Regions from separate parts of the Homo sapiens genome. Here all the other regions are linked to region 1. Evidence: promoter capture Hi-C in human tissues and cell types (Jung and others, 2019). All regions are on one chromosome and are shown on one strand. Each heading gives the region's core, a stretch centred on a gene start or on the middle of the fragment in contact. The rest is flanking DNA. Distances are from core to core; before and after follow the strand shown. Region 1 holds the start of ZNF417 (zinc finger protein 417). Region 2 has its middle 12 kb from the start of ZSCAN4. Region 3 holds the start of ZNF773 (zinc finger protein 773). Region 4 holds the start of ZNF837 (zinc finger protein 837). Region 5 holds the start of ZNF211 (zinc finger protein 211).

The links. Contacts are between HindIII fragments. The study calls those that stand out against the background at their distance.
Region 2: a contact is called between a fragment that was not itself captured here and the fragment with the promoter of ZNF417 in region 1, in 1 of the 25 tissues and cell types used here (spleen).
Region 3: the fragment with the promoter of ZNF773 here is called in contact with the fragment with the promoter of ZNF417 in region 1 in 1 of the 25 tissues and cell types used here (spleen).
Region 4: the fragment with the promoter of ZNF837 here is called in contact with the fragment with the promoter of ZNF417 in region 1 in 1 of the 25 tissues and cell types used here (stomach).
Region 5: a contact is called between the fragment with the promoter of ZNF211 here and the fragment with the promoter of ZNF417 in region 1, in 2 of the 25 tissues and cell types used here (lymphoblastoid cells and pancreas).

The regions. Positions count from the first base shown.
Region 1 is chr19:57,915,342-57,918,041 of GRCh38, forward strand. It overlaps ZNF417 (zinc finger protein 417), which reads right to left and starts at 1,251. Exons shown (of 3, transcript NM_152475.3): 1 at 1,038-1,251. The coding sequence starts at 1,070. RefSeq lists enhancers at 1,008-1,297, 1,316-2,171, 1,568-1,627. The HindIII fragment of the contact is 14,944 bases long and covers 1-2,700 here.
Region 2 is chr19:57,655,236-57,657,935 of GRCh38, forward strand. It overlaps a transcript of ZSCAN4 not described here. Among named protein-coding and RNA genes, the nearest start is that of ZSCAN4, 12 kb to the right of the region's middle. The HindIII fragment of the contact is 8,692 bases long and covers 1-2,700 here.
Region 3 is chr19:57,498,549-57,501,248 of GRCh38, forward strand. It overlaps ZNF773 (zinc finger protein 773), which reads left to right and starts at 1,390. Exons shown (of 4, transcript NM_198542.3): 1 at 1,390-1,565. The coding sequence starts at 1,533. The HindIII fragment of the contact is 9,164 bases long and covers 1-2,700 here.
Region 4 is chr19:58,379,755-58,382,454 of GRCh38, forward strand. It overlaps ZNF837 (zinc finger protein 837), which reads right to left and starts at 1,276. Exons shown (of 3, transcript NM_138466.2): 1 at 1,187-1,276. RefSeq lists enhancers at 1-541, 358-587, 542-1,083, 618-677 and a silencer at 1,028-1,537. The HindIII fragment of the contact is 47,170 bases long and covers 1-2,700 here.
Region 5 is chr19:57,631,865-57,634,564 of GRCh38, forward strand. It overlaps ZNF211 (zinc finger protein 211), which reads left to right and starts at 1,304. Exons shown (of 4, transcript NM_006385.5): 1 at 1,304-1,572; 2 at 2,159-2,197. The coding sequence starts at 1,483. RefSeq lists enhancers at 904-993, 1,064-1,113 and a silencer at 1,554-1,623. The HindIII fragment of the contact is 12,794 bases long and covers 1-2,311 here.

The sequences.
Region 1 (2,700 bases), core at 1-2,500:
AATGCACAGCCCTCGGCCTGCTTACTCTTCCAGGGAGAGCTCCACCTCACACTTTGTTCCAGACAGGTTCCATCCTCCCGGCTCCGTCCATCTCCAGGCCATTGCCTGCGCCCCTCCCTGTGCTTGTTGCTCTCCCCACCGCATCCCACGGGTGTCAGAAACAGGTGAAACCGTCTTTGCAAAATTATAACTGAGGAAATTATGACAGTGAAAGAAATCAGACCTTACTGACTCCGTCTTGCTTCCAACCTTTCAGCTGTCCTTGTTCATTCCTGGGTATAGGCTGAATTAACTTAGGGAAGGAATTCAGTTCATGGTTTCACTCTGAAACAAAATTGATAATAGCCCTTTCCTGAAAAGACCCCCTTCTTGCCTGGAGAACAGCCTGCCTTTGCAGGACTAACGAATTAGCTACAAGGTTAGAAATTACCGTTTAGGGGTCATGCAGCTTCTGACTCCAAGAGTCTGAACCTCCCCAAGTTGCTCCTGAAGATAAATCACTATTGTAAAACCTAAGATCAGTGCTTGAGGTATTTTGCAGATCCTGCACTGGATGGATCAGCTGACAACACACAGACCGGTAATCTGGGTCAATCAGTTCTGCCATCCCACCCAGAACAGAAAACAGCATGAAAAACTCACTTTAACCCTCTATGAATCCATCTCAGGTCCCAACCCTTACCGCCAAATTAATGTTGAAAACTCTGATCCCGGAATGCTAATGGAGACTGATTTGAGTAATAATAAAACTCCTGTCTCCAGAACAGCCTGACGGCTCTGCGTCAATTACTATTTCTCCATCGCAATTCTCCAGTCTTCATAAATCGGCTCTGTCTAGGCAGCTGGCAAGGTGAACCCACTGGACAGTTACACAGGGACCCCCACTGGACAGTTACACAGGGACCCCTCCTGCGAGCGCCTCAGTGTTCCTACGCCGGGTACCGGCTACAGACCCGTGAGCAGGAGCCGCTCCCTCGCTGGTTTAGGACCTGGGTGACGATGGGGTGACCTGAGGGCACAGAAGGCGCCACAATTACCTGAGTCGGGCGCCTCGGCGCAGCCGCTGCCATCGGACTACTTGGGGAAGCACGGCCCGGGAGCAGTGGTCGCCGTCACGGGGCTGCAGAGCCGCCTCTGGGCACCGAGGACGATTCCTCTCCACCTTCTAGGTTCAGTCACCGCGGTCCCCCCCCAGCACTCAGGGGCCACAAACTGGGGAAACACCCGCGTCACCGATACACAGCCGCTACTAGAGACCCCGGAAGTCTCAGCCTTACGTTACGTGCACACGTGGAAATGCCTTCTTTCCGAGTGCTCATTGGCTCTGACCGGCTGTCGTTTAACGCAGAGCTTTCTGGGTAATGTAGTTCCCCACTTTCCATGGCGCTAAAAAGAGCGATACCCAGAGTCCATCTGCAGGAAAAGCCCGCCATCAGGTCAGGGGTTCTCCTTAAAAAGCGCACCCTTCTGGCCGGGCGCAGTGGCTCAAGCCTGTAATCTCAGCACTTTGGAAGGCGGAGGTGGGCGGATCACGAGGTCAGGAGATGGAGACCATCCTGGCTAACACGGTGAAACCCCGTGTCTACTAAAAATTCAAAAAAAAAAAAAGTTAGCTGGGTGTGGTGGCGGGCGCCTACAGTCACAGCTACTCTGGAGGCTGAGGCTGGAGGAGAATGGCGTGAACCTGGGAGGCAGAGCTTGCAGTGAGCTGGGATCGCGCCACTGCCCTCCAGCCTGCGCGACAGAGCAAGACTCTGTCTCAAAAAAAAAAAAAAAAAAAAAAAAAAAAAAAAAAAAAAAGGCGCCTTTCTAGGGCAGAGGAGGGGTCTCACCTAGCCTTAGAAGCCGTATTGAGATTCCTGGAGACTAGTGTCTGTAACTAATCACTCAAGAATCTGGAAAAATACTGTTTCAGATTTCGGGGAGCGCAAGGTAAATAATAGGGAGCTCAAGCTAAAACTATTATTTAGGATTCTCCTAAAGGCTAAAAATCCAAATTACCACACCGTTTGAAACAGTCGTTCAGTCGCAAAATACCTGCACTGGAAGCAGAGGCTGATAAGCGTTGTTGTGTTATAATGTGTCTGAAGGCCCTCAGAAGCCTTAGAGTGCCTAAGGCAAATGAAGGAAGTTAGGGATGTGCTCCCCTATAGCAGGAGTGCAAAGCTGAATCTCTGTGATTCCTACAGAAAACAACTCTCCTGCTGATAGAATCTGTGAAAGGAAAATCTTGTGGCCTCAAAATTACTAAGCTAAAGGGAAAAGTCAATCTGGGAACTGCTCAGGGCAAACTTGCCTCCCATTCTATTCAAAGTCTTCCCTCTCCTCACTGAGATAGATGCCTATTCTGATTGCCTCCTTTGGAAGGACTTATCAGAAATTAAAAAGAATCCAACTATTTGTCTCTCTACCTGTCTACCTGTGACCTGGAAGTCCCCTCCCTGCTTCGAGTTGTTCCCGCCTTTCTGGTCGGAACCAATGTACTTCTTACATATATTCACTGATGTCTCATGTCCCCCTAAAATGTATAAAACCAACCTGTACCCCAACCACCATGGGCACATGTCGTCAGGACTTCCTGAGGCTGTGTCACGGGCATGTGTCCTCAACCTTGGCAAAATAAACTTTTTCTTTTATGAGACGGAGTCTCGCTCTTTGGTCAGGCTCGAGTGCAGTGGCGCGATCTCGGCTCACTGCAAC
Region 2 (2,700 bases), core at 57-2,556, 260 kb before region 1:
AAGCTGCTGTACACCACATCACGTGGGCCCATCCTAGAACACCTGGATCCAGTCTGTACCATTGACTCCCAGTTCAAAAAACTGAAAAATGCCCTTTCAATGTCGCCAGCACTGGGACTACCCAACCCCAACAAGCCCTTTACTCTGTATGTTCATTCTAACCAAGGCCTTGTTCTTGGGCTACTCTGTCAAACATTCAGCGGTACCCCACAAGCCATTGTATATCTCTCAAAACAACTGAACTCAGTCATCTAAGGTTGGCCACCCTGTTTAAGGATCTTATGTGTGTCTATGCTGCTGGCCTCAGAAGCTCAAAAACTCACCCTCTATCAATACATTACCATTGCACCTTCTCATAACCTACAGGAACTCATGAGTCATTGCTCCCTTCTTTCCCTCCTGCTATCTTACTTACAACAAACACACACCTCCTACATAAACAACCTTCTAATCACCTACCAAAGATGTAAAGTTCTCAACCCAGCCACCCTCTTCCCTATAAGGACCTTTGACTCTGAACTCTGTCACTCCTGCTTGGACTTTTTAGATTCCCTTTCCTTCCCTTTCCGACACATATCAGAGACCCCCTTACAGGGGACACCTACATGGTTCATTGATGGGAGCTCCTTTAAAGAGCCATGTCTTGCAGCAGGCTACACCATCGTTGCCAAACACAAGCTCCTAGAGTCCAATACTGTCGCATCCCCTACCACCTCCTAACAGGCAGAATTAGTCGACCTAACTAGGGCCCTCACCCTAGCAATAGGAAAAAGGGTCAATATTTACACTAACTGTAAGTATGCATACCACATTCTACACTCCCAAGCCTTAATCTCACAGGAAAGAGCTTTTCTTAGTACCAAAGGGACCTGCATAGTAAATGGCAAACTGATACACAGGTTGCTGGAGGTAGCTAAACTACCATTAGAGGCCACCATTATCCATTGCAATGGACACCAGAGAGCTACAGATGCCATAACCAAGGGAAACATTATGGCAGACTCAGCAGCCTGGCAGGTGGCCCACAACATCCCATCACTGTTGTCCATTTTCCCAGCAGACATCCCTCATACACCCAGGAGGAACAAGTCAAACTAACACTGGGGCTACCCAAAGGGAAGGCTGATGTTATCTTGACACAAACTCATCCTGCCCAAATCTCAAGAACTCTCTATTCCCTCCCACATCCACAACCACTTCCATGCTGGTTATTACCACATACCCCAGTTTTTAAAAACTTACACACACTCCACCACCATGACAACCAACCTTGAATGTTTAACCAGTCTGCCCAGTTTGTGGTCAGACTTCCCCTGAAGGGGCTCTTAAACCACCTCCTTTCTCCACTCATCAGGCATGAGGCCATTTCCCAGAACAGGACTGGCAAGTTGACTTCACCCATATACCCCCTGTAAAAAAAGGAAAGGGCCAACTACAGCCTGGGAAAAATATTTGTGAAACCTCTATCTAATAAATGATGAGTATTCAGAATACGTAAAACATCCCTACAAATAGCATAAACAACACAATTTAAAAATAGGCAAAAGTTCAAGACCAGCCTGGGCAACATGGCAAAACACTGTTTCTACAAAAATTAGCTAATAAGCTGGGCATGGTGGTGTGTGCCTGTGGCCCCAGCTACTTGGGAGGCTGAGATGGAAGGATCACTGATTCCAGGGAGGTCGAAGCTTCAGTGAGCTATGATCAAATCACTGCACTCCAGCCTGGGCAACAGGGTGAGATATCATAGCTGTAATTCCAACGCTTTGGGGGGCTGAGGAAGGCGGATCACTTGAGGACAGGAGTTCAACATCAGCCTGGCCAACATGGTGAAACCTCGTCTCTAGTAAAAATACAAAAATTATCCGGGAGTGTCCAGGAGTGGTGGCAGGCACCTGTAATCCCAGCTACTCAAGAGGCTGAGGCAGGAGAATTGCTTGAACCCGGGAGGCAGAGGTTGCAGTCAGCTGAGATCGCGCCACTGTACTCCAGCCTGGGCAACAAGAGTGAAACTCCGTCTGCCCTCCGTCTGTCTGCAACAGAGCTAGACTCCATGTCAAAAAAAAAAAAAAGGCAAAATATTTGAACACATTTTTCACTAAAGATGATATATGAATGGTATATAAATGCATGAAAATAAGTTCAGAATTATTACTATTTAAGGAACTACAAATGAAAACCACAATGAGATACCACTACATACTCATTTTGATGAGTAACATTAACCGAATGATCACACCTAGCTGTTGAAGGTATGAAATAAACTGGAGCTCTCATACATTGCTGGTGGAAATGCAAAATAAATAAATTTGGAAAACACTGTAGCCGTTATTAAAGTTAGTTGTCCACTTATCATTTGATAAATTAATCTCATTCCTAAGTATAACCTCAAGAGATGGAAACGTGTCCATAGAAATACTTGTATAATCATTCCTCAGTATCCATGGGGGACTGATTCCAGGACCCCCAAGGATACCAAAACCTGAAGATGTTCTAGTCTCTTATATAATATGATGTGGTATTTGCATATAACCTGTGTATATCCTCCCACATAATTTAAATTATAATTTAAATTACTTATAATACCTAATACAATGCAAATGCTGTTTAAATAGTTGCTATACATTGTCACCTAATACAGTGTAAATGCTGTTTAAATAGCTGCTACACAATAGTTGTATTGTTTAGGGAGTAATGACC
Region 3 (2,700 bases), core at 140-2,639, 420 kb before region 1:
GCTGGGACTACAGGCACCTGCTACCACACCCGGCTAATTTTTTGTATTTTTTAGTACAGACGGGGTTTCACCGTGTTAGCCAGGATAGTCTCGATCTCCTGACCTTGTGATCCACCCGCCTTGGCCTCCCAAAGTGCTGGGATTACAGGCGTAAGCCACCACCTCCCTACTCTTTCTACCCAATAAATATGAAGGTCTGTGGAAGCTCAGGGCCCTTCCTCACTAGAAGCAAGAAGCCCCCTGACCCCTTCTTTAAAACAGATTTATTTTGCCTTTGTTTTCATTTCTGCATTCGTTCCCCTTCGTTCAGTCCCATAGTAACTGTGACAGGAATATGGAGCAGAAATGGATGAAGGGGAGAAATTGAGGGGGAGTTGGCTTATGGGTTTGCTGCCTGTTGTTGTGCCTTTACACCAATGTTGGGTCCTTGAGGAAGGAAAGAACACAAATGAGAATGGGGTGAAAGAGGAACGTAAATCCTTGGGCTCCCCTACTCTCTCATCACCTACATCCAGAATTCAGAGCCTTTTCTTATTATCATACATCAGGCATTAATATTGGGTGTCCCCTTGCCAAAGGAAATTTAGGAAGGTATACGTGGCTTTGCCCAGTGAAACCTCTTTATGGTGGCCCTGAAGATCCTCTTCAAGTCCTTCAAAAGAAGGAAAGATTGGAGTATCAGCTGCAGGAAACTGAAATCCAGGCCCATCTCCAATTACAACAGGTTCCAGATGAGTCCGAGAGTTCTCGACACTCATTTCTCCTCCATCTCCTACTCCATCATCTCCATCTCCATCTTCTCCATCATCTCCATCTTCATCATCATCTCCATCTCCATCATCTCCATGTCCATCATCATCTCTATCTCCATCATCTCCATCTCCATCATCTCCATCTCCATCATCATCTCTATCTCCATCATCATCTCTATCTCCATCATCTCCATCTCCATCATCTCCATCATCTCCATCTCCATCTCCTACTCCATCATCTCCATCTCCATCTTCTCCATCATCTCCATCTTCTCCATCATCTCCATCTTCTCCATCATCTCCATCTTCATCATCTCCATTTCCATCATCTCCATCTCCATCATCATCTCTATCTCCATCATCTCCATCTCCATCATCTCCATCATCTCCATCTCCATCTCCATCTCCATCATCTACCGTCTCCAATCTCCATCTCCGAAGTTATGCCCACTTCCTCGAAGTTTGGAGCCACGCGAACTACACTGCCCAGAAGGCGCCGCGCCGTGAGCCGCGATGCTTGGCCAATGAAAAGAGGTCTACCCGAGAGTGCGACGCGCAATGGGCGGGACTTCCGGCGTCTCCCCTCGGCGGTTGCTTTCGCTGCCCTCAAGAGAACTCAGCTTGCCGGAAGCTGGTTGTTCGCTGCGGCGACCAGCTCCGGAAAGCGCGGTGGGGACGCGCTGTGTTCTCGCAGCTCAGAGGCGGGTCTGAGGCTCGGTGGCGGCGCCCAGGGTGGCCCGGGCCCTTTCCTCGGTCGTTGTCTCACCGCCACAGGCTCCGATGGCGGCGGCCACGCTGAGGGACCCCGCTCAGGTGAGCGCCGCGTCCTCCCGGCCTCCCCCGAATCCTAAAGCCCTGTGAGGGCCGCCTGCTCAGGTCCCCGGGTGCAGAACTGTGGGGCGTTCGTGGGCGGCGTCCCGTTTCTGACACGCAGTGTGATGGGGTGGCAATGGAGGGCAAGGGGCCCGGCTCGCAAAGATGTGAGGCGCATTCAGCGAGTCCCGAACCTGAGGCCTCCTGGTGTCTGTAGTGGGCAGCTTGGGAAGGGACGAGGCGCGTGTCGAGCGACAGCCCGAGCAGCTGCGCTTTCATCCTGAGGGGGCCACAGTGGCCGCGGAGGGCTGGAGACAGAAGAGTGACAAGATCTGTTTCTCAAAGTTTGCCAAAGGCCCTTCAAGTCAAAACAGACTGGGGTGGGGGTGAGGCGGGTGAAGACAGACCTGTGAGTAGGTAAATTCAGTAGACTAGTGGAGAGTCTACTGGGACTGGGCCACAGAGGAGGGGAAGTGATCAGATCTTGGATGGATTTCAAAAACTGAACAGACGGGAATTCCTGTTGCATCAGATGTGACTGTGAAAGAAAGTAGGGAATGAAGAGCCATTCTGGATTTTTATTTGTATTTTTGTTTGTTCCTGAATATCAGGAAGGATGGAGATGGGTAAGGCTGTGCAGGGAATAGGTTTTGGGCATGGTGATCCTGAGATGTCCCAGAGTGGAGGTGTCATGTCCACATGAGCAGCTGGAAGGCCTGGGGCTCGTATTTAGGAGGGAGAATCTTAAAGTTTTCTTTCAGATGGTCCCTGAGGTGAGGGAAGGGAGAGATGGGCCTGTAGGATGGGGCAGCCTCTACAGCCTGGAGTTTCGTGGTCCGAAGTGATTTTGTCTGGTGCCTGCAGGAATGGAGGGTTATAGAGTATGAACACCCAGGACTGGATGGAGACCGCAGTGTTGGGTAGTATATAGGTTTGCCACTCCAGGCTTAGTAGTTCCTCATGTCCAGTCCATATGGAGAAAAGGAAAGGTCAGCCAGGCTGGTGGAGCAGCACCTTTGGTGCCTAAGTTTCCCTAGCTATCAGCACAGGTGGGATGATCAACTGCTCCAGTAGAAGGGAGGGCTCTCAGCAGGATGGTCTTCAGGGGAGTATATAGCAGGCAGCCAGATTGCCA
Region 4 (2,700 bases), core at 26-2,525, 460 kb after region 1:
ACACACAGGAAAGCTAGTGAGGTTCAACATCCTCATGGAGGTTGCACACGGCACAATGAGGTCTTATTTGCCCAAGAGAATGTGCAGGGAAGTCGCCAGGCACGGTGGTGCATGCCTGTAATCCCAGCTACTCGGGAGGCTGAGGCTGGAGAATCGCTTGAACCCGGGAGGCGGAGGTTGCAGTGAGCCGAGATCGCGCCACTGCACTCCAGCCTGGGCAACAAGAGCGAAACTCCGTCTCAAAACAACAACAACAACAACAACAACAAAAACAGAATGTGCAGGGAAGTCAACGTTGGTGGCTCTGAGGTGTGGAGGACACAGGCTAGTGCCCAGCTCAGCGTGGCTCCACCTCTCTGAGCCACAGACCAACCTCACCCACACTGACAGTCCCAGGGGACACAGACTCTAGCCCCTATGTCCAATTCTACACTGTGCACGCAATGGGAAGAACAGTGCATCATGCACTGTACAGCAGAAGAAATGTCCTCTGAGTGCAGGCACAGCTCCCTTCTGTGTCTGTCCTCCCGACAGTGCCTCCACCCTCAAGGATTAGCAAGCTTCAACCCTCGCAGGACATCCACTGTGTCAGGGCCAAACGGTGCTGCATCCTGCTCTAATAGTGAGTGAAGGAGGGGACCGCAGACAAGAAGAAATGAACAAGAGACCGTTTAAGAGAGAAAAAGACGTGAAGAACATCAGACAGGGAGCAGCGCGAGGGCGCCAGGGAGGGAGGCAGCGGATTCTTCGGGCCTCTGTGAAGAGGGGGCATGAAACCGGTCTGCAGACAAGGAAAGAGCAAAGTGCAAAGGCCAGGATGCGGGGGCAGAGACGGTAGGGAGGCCGGCGTCGGCCTCGGCTAGCAGGTGGGCTTGACTCCGAGAGCCGCAGGCCGCCAGGATGGGTCCCGGGCCTGGAGCCTCCCCTCGCGGGCTTCAATGACACCCAGCACGGAAACGCGGGGGCCAGAACTACAGAAGCCCGTCCCGCCCGGAACTCAAGGTCGCGAGTGCTGTGTGGCCGGTCCGGACCCGGAGCGCGAGGACCGGAAGTGCGCGGCGTCACGCCTCTGCCCCGGACCCCGCGCGCGGAGGTGGAGAGGGGACTGGGGTGGTGGCCGCGCTATGCGCCGGGAGGTCCCCGCCTCGCAGGCCGAGGTTGCGGGTCCGCGCAGAATGCCACTTACTCTCTGGAGGCGGCCCGCACGGGTCCCTGGTCCCCGCCCCGCATGCAGCGCGGAGCCGTCCTCCCGCCACCTCCGGGCCGCCGCGGCACTGAGGGACCCGGGCCACAGCAAGCGCAGGCGGGAACCCGCGCGGGGACTGCTGGGAAACGTAGTCCCGTCATGTCCCGCTTTGACGCTGCGGAGAAAGCGGTGTAGGGAGAGGCTTGGGCTTCGGTTATCATAGAAACAGAGGCCGGCTACACCTAAAAGGCGGGGCGTGGACCTAAGTCGTCGCCAAAGAAACGGCGTTCTGGACGGGGACGTAGGGTCCCGCCCATTCCTTCTCGTGAAAGCGGGTGACTGGTCATGATTATGATTGATAGCCTCCTCTCCCAATCTGATTTCTAAGAGGTCCCAACCCGGAACCGACTTGCGGTTCGCAGGCTCCCCTCGGGTGGGAGAGTTGGGCTGGGAAGCACCTGGGGAGCTCTGAAGTGTCTTGGTGAGCGCGTTGCGAGTCAGACCGATAACATCAGAATCTGGGACTGGGCCCGAGCATATGCGCGTCAAAACTCCTCAGTTAAGTCTATTTTTTTGTATTTTTTTTGGTTTGCTTTTTTGAGACGGGGTCTCGCTCTGTCGCCCAGGCTAATGCAGTGACACCATCACGGTTCACTGCAGCCTCGACCTCCTGAGCTCAAGCGATCCTCCTACTTCAGCCTCCAGAGTAGCTGTTAACAGGGGCGCGCGCCACCACGCCCGGCTAATTTTCTTTCTTCTCTCCCTCCCCCTCCTTCTCCCCCTCCCTTCCTCCTCCCACTATGTCGCCCAGGCTGGTCTCGAACTCCTGTACTGAAGCGACCCTCCCACCTCACCCTCCCGAATAGCTGGGACTATAGGTGGGAGCCACCATGCCTGGATAGTTTTTTTATTTTTATTTATTTATTTATTTTAGAGATAGGGTCTCCATATGTTGCCCAGACTGGTCTGGAACTCCTGGGCTCAAGCGATCCTCGTGTCTCAGCCTTCCAGAGTGCTGGGAGTACAGGCTTGAGCCACTGCGCCAGGCCCCTAGTCCGGCTCCTAGTTGATTCTAACACGTGCGGCCCCATTGGGGAACCACAGCCTCCCCAGCCCCTTTGGGTGTTGCTGACTCTACGGGCCCTCCCAGGTAGGATGAACTGGTCACGCCTCCTACCCATTTGTAACCCCCAGCTCTTGCCCCCATCTATTGTGTGGCTCCTGCCCTCAATAGGGACATCTAATTTTGTTGGCCAGTCCAGCACATATATTGCATGTAACGACCCAGTTTGCCCCACCTTTCTGCCTCCACTGCATCTGCTTCAGGGATGCTGGGACTGTTCCACTCCCTTTCTCCATCCTTTGGGTGTCTGCACATCGAAAGCCTTGTCAGGAGGTCTATCTCCCTGCCCAAGTACAAAACTCAGGGCTTACCAAGCTAATTGAGGGCGAGCAGGAGGCTGAAGGGCACTTGGAGGGCTGCCCGCCTTGTGGGTCCCTTGGTGGCTGAAGAG
Region 5 (2,700 bases), core at 54-2,553, 280 kb before region 1:
TGAGGTGGGAGGATCACTTGAGCCCAGGAAGTGGAGGCTGCAATGAGCTATGATTGTTCCACTGTACTCCAGCCTGGACAACAGAGTGAGACCCTGTCTCAAAAAAAAATTAAATGTTTTGATTATACAAGGAAAATGAACATTCATGTATTAAAGCTTCATGTTTTATGAACAAAACTGACTTTGCAGGCAGGAGAGCGTTTTCTGGGGGCACCAGAAGCAGGGAACTTCCCTTGTCCGTTGGCTTCAGGGCTGCCCACTATCCCTCCACTATCTTCCCATTGTAGCCCTGTCTGGTGTCTTTTGTCCCTGACAAAACCTACAAAAAGTGACTTTAACACTTCAGGCTGCATGCATTTGAAGAGCAATAAGATAACGTTTTTTCGCTTCCCACTACCAGTGGAGATCTGCTGGGGTGGGCTGCATGGAATCTGAAATGATGTCTAAATACTGAAGTGAACCTCTACACTAGAGACTGATATACAGCTGACCCTTAAACGACGCAGGGGTCAGGGATACCGACCCCTGCGGAATTGAAAATGCTTGTATTACTTTTGACTCCCCTAGGTCTTAACTACTAATAGCCAACTGTTGCCCGGAAGCCTTATGAAGTTGCCCGGAAGCCTTATGAATTACATAAACTCCCAGTCGATTAACACATTTTGTATGATATATGCATGATATATGCATAATATATATGATATATGCATTTTGTATGATATATGCATTATATATATTTTAGTATAAGAACTATACTTGTACTAAAACAGACCAGAGAAAGGGTATCAGGAAAATTGTAAGAGGCTCGTTGACATTACACCCAATTAAAAAAAGGAAAATAAAAGAATACGGAAGGGAAAATACATTTACTAATCATTAAGTGGAAGTGGATCATCATAAAGGTCTTCATCCTTGTGTTCTTCATGCTGGGCAAGAGAATGAGGTCTTGCTGTCTCTGGGGCAAGAGGTCGGGGAGCTGGAAGAGGCAGGAAAAGGAGCACACTCGAAGTAACGTTTATTGGGGAAAAAAAACGCCTACGTGTAAATGGACCCGCACAGCTCAAACCTGTGTTGTTCAAGTGTCAACCTACTTAAGACCTCAAACACCGAAGCCCCTCAGTCGCCCTGGAAGGCAGCAGACGCAGCTTCCTAGCGCTCCCAGCTGTCTGCACACAAGGCGCCCTCCGTCGCAGCCTGGGGGAGACTACATTACCCAGAAAGCCTTGCGTCGAGCGGCAGTACTTTGATCCAATGAAAATCCAAGACAGGGGCATTTCCGTGTGGGTCTACCCCCGCCCCCCCCAGGGCGGGACTTGTGGCGTCTTCGCAGCGGTCATTTTGGCTGCCCTCCCGGAGGTCCGTTCTGTCTGTCAGCCGCTTTGGTACGCTGCATCGGGATCGAAGTGACGGACCGTGAAGGCGCGAGAGTCAGGTCTGAGGGTCGGGGGCAGAGCCGCCCGCGAGGCCGGCCTGGGGATAGCGATGCTCGGGTTCCCCCCGGGTCGCCCGCAGCTCCCGGTCCAGCTCCGCCCACAGACTCGGATGGCGACCGCACTGAGGGACCCGGCTTCGGTGAGCGCTGCGATCTCCGGGCCTCCCCCGGCCGAGATTCTTAAGTCCCAAGTGAGAGGCACCAGCTCACGTCTCTGTAGCACAGGGTCGGGGACACTGAGGCTCGTGGGTGGGGCCCCTATTTCTGACATCCGATGTGGTGGGCAGGGGGACAAGGGACAGGACCGGCGCGTGCAGGGCTTGGACGGGCAACCGAGAAGGGGGCATTCAGGAACCTGGGCTCCACATTGTTACTGCAGGGAACAAAGTTTGAGAGAGATCTACCTTTATTCTTAGGGCCGTGGGAGCCATAGAGAGCTTGCGCAAACGAGAGACACCATCTGAGTTAAATTTGAAAAATCCTCTGCAGGCTGTTCAGTGGAAGAAAAGACTTTAGAGATGGATGAGGACGTTGAGGCAGAGGGAGGTTGAATATTTTTCCAAGGCCACACAACTGGTGAGAGGCAGCACTAAGGACCGAGGCGCACAGGTTAGACAGTCGACCCAAAGTTACGTGGCTCTGGGCCGGGGCAAGGGTACAGGGAAGGCCTGTGCCCATGGAGCACTGCCATGATCACATTCCTCTGAGGCCTGCGTCTTTCCACAGGTTCCCATAGCTACAGAGGTGCTTTTCAAACTTACACAGGTAAGTGGAGGTATCTCAGCCCCTCACTGGTCTGGAATGTCCCTCCACCCTCCCCAGACAGATATTTTCTTTAGATTTGTGGTGTCATGGGACTCACCTACCATTCTCTCAGCGTTTGGTTTGGGAACCCTGGAGAATCCCTGAGCTAAGGGCCCTGAGTCCAGGCCAATGTTTCCATTTGGAGCAGCCAATGGAAAGATGGGTGAAAATTTATGATAGAAACAGGTAGGTACCAGCTTTTGGAACTCCTTGGAGGTGAGGCTGAGCTGGTTCAGGGAACTGCAGGTTTCCTTTATTTCTGTGAAGTTTGGCATCTATTGTGAGGAAGTTGGAGTTTGGGATCAGAGGAGGGAGATTTATCTAACCCAAGTGTTGACAGGATACAGAGTGGAAAACAGAATGAACACAGTGACTAATGGGAATGTGAAGAGACAGCAGGGATCAATGACACCAAGGTCTGGTGTCTCTTCTGACTTGGGGATCTTGGGAGGAGAATGTATGGG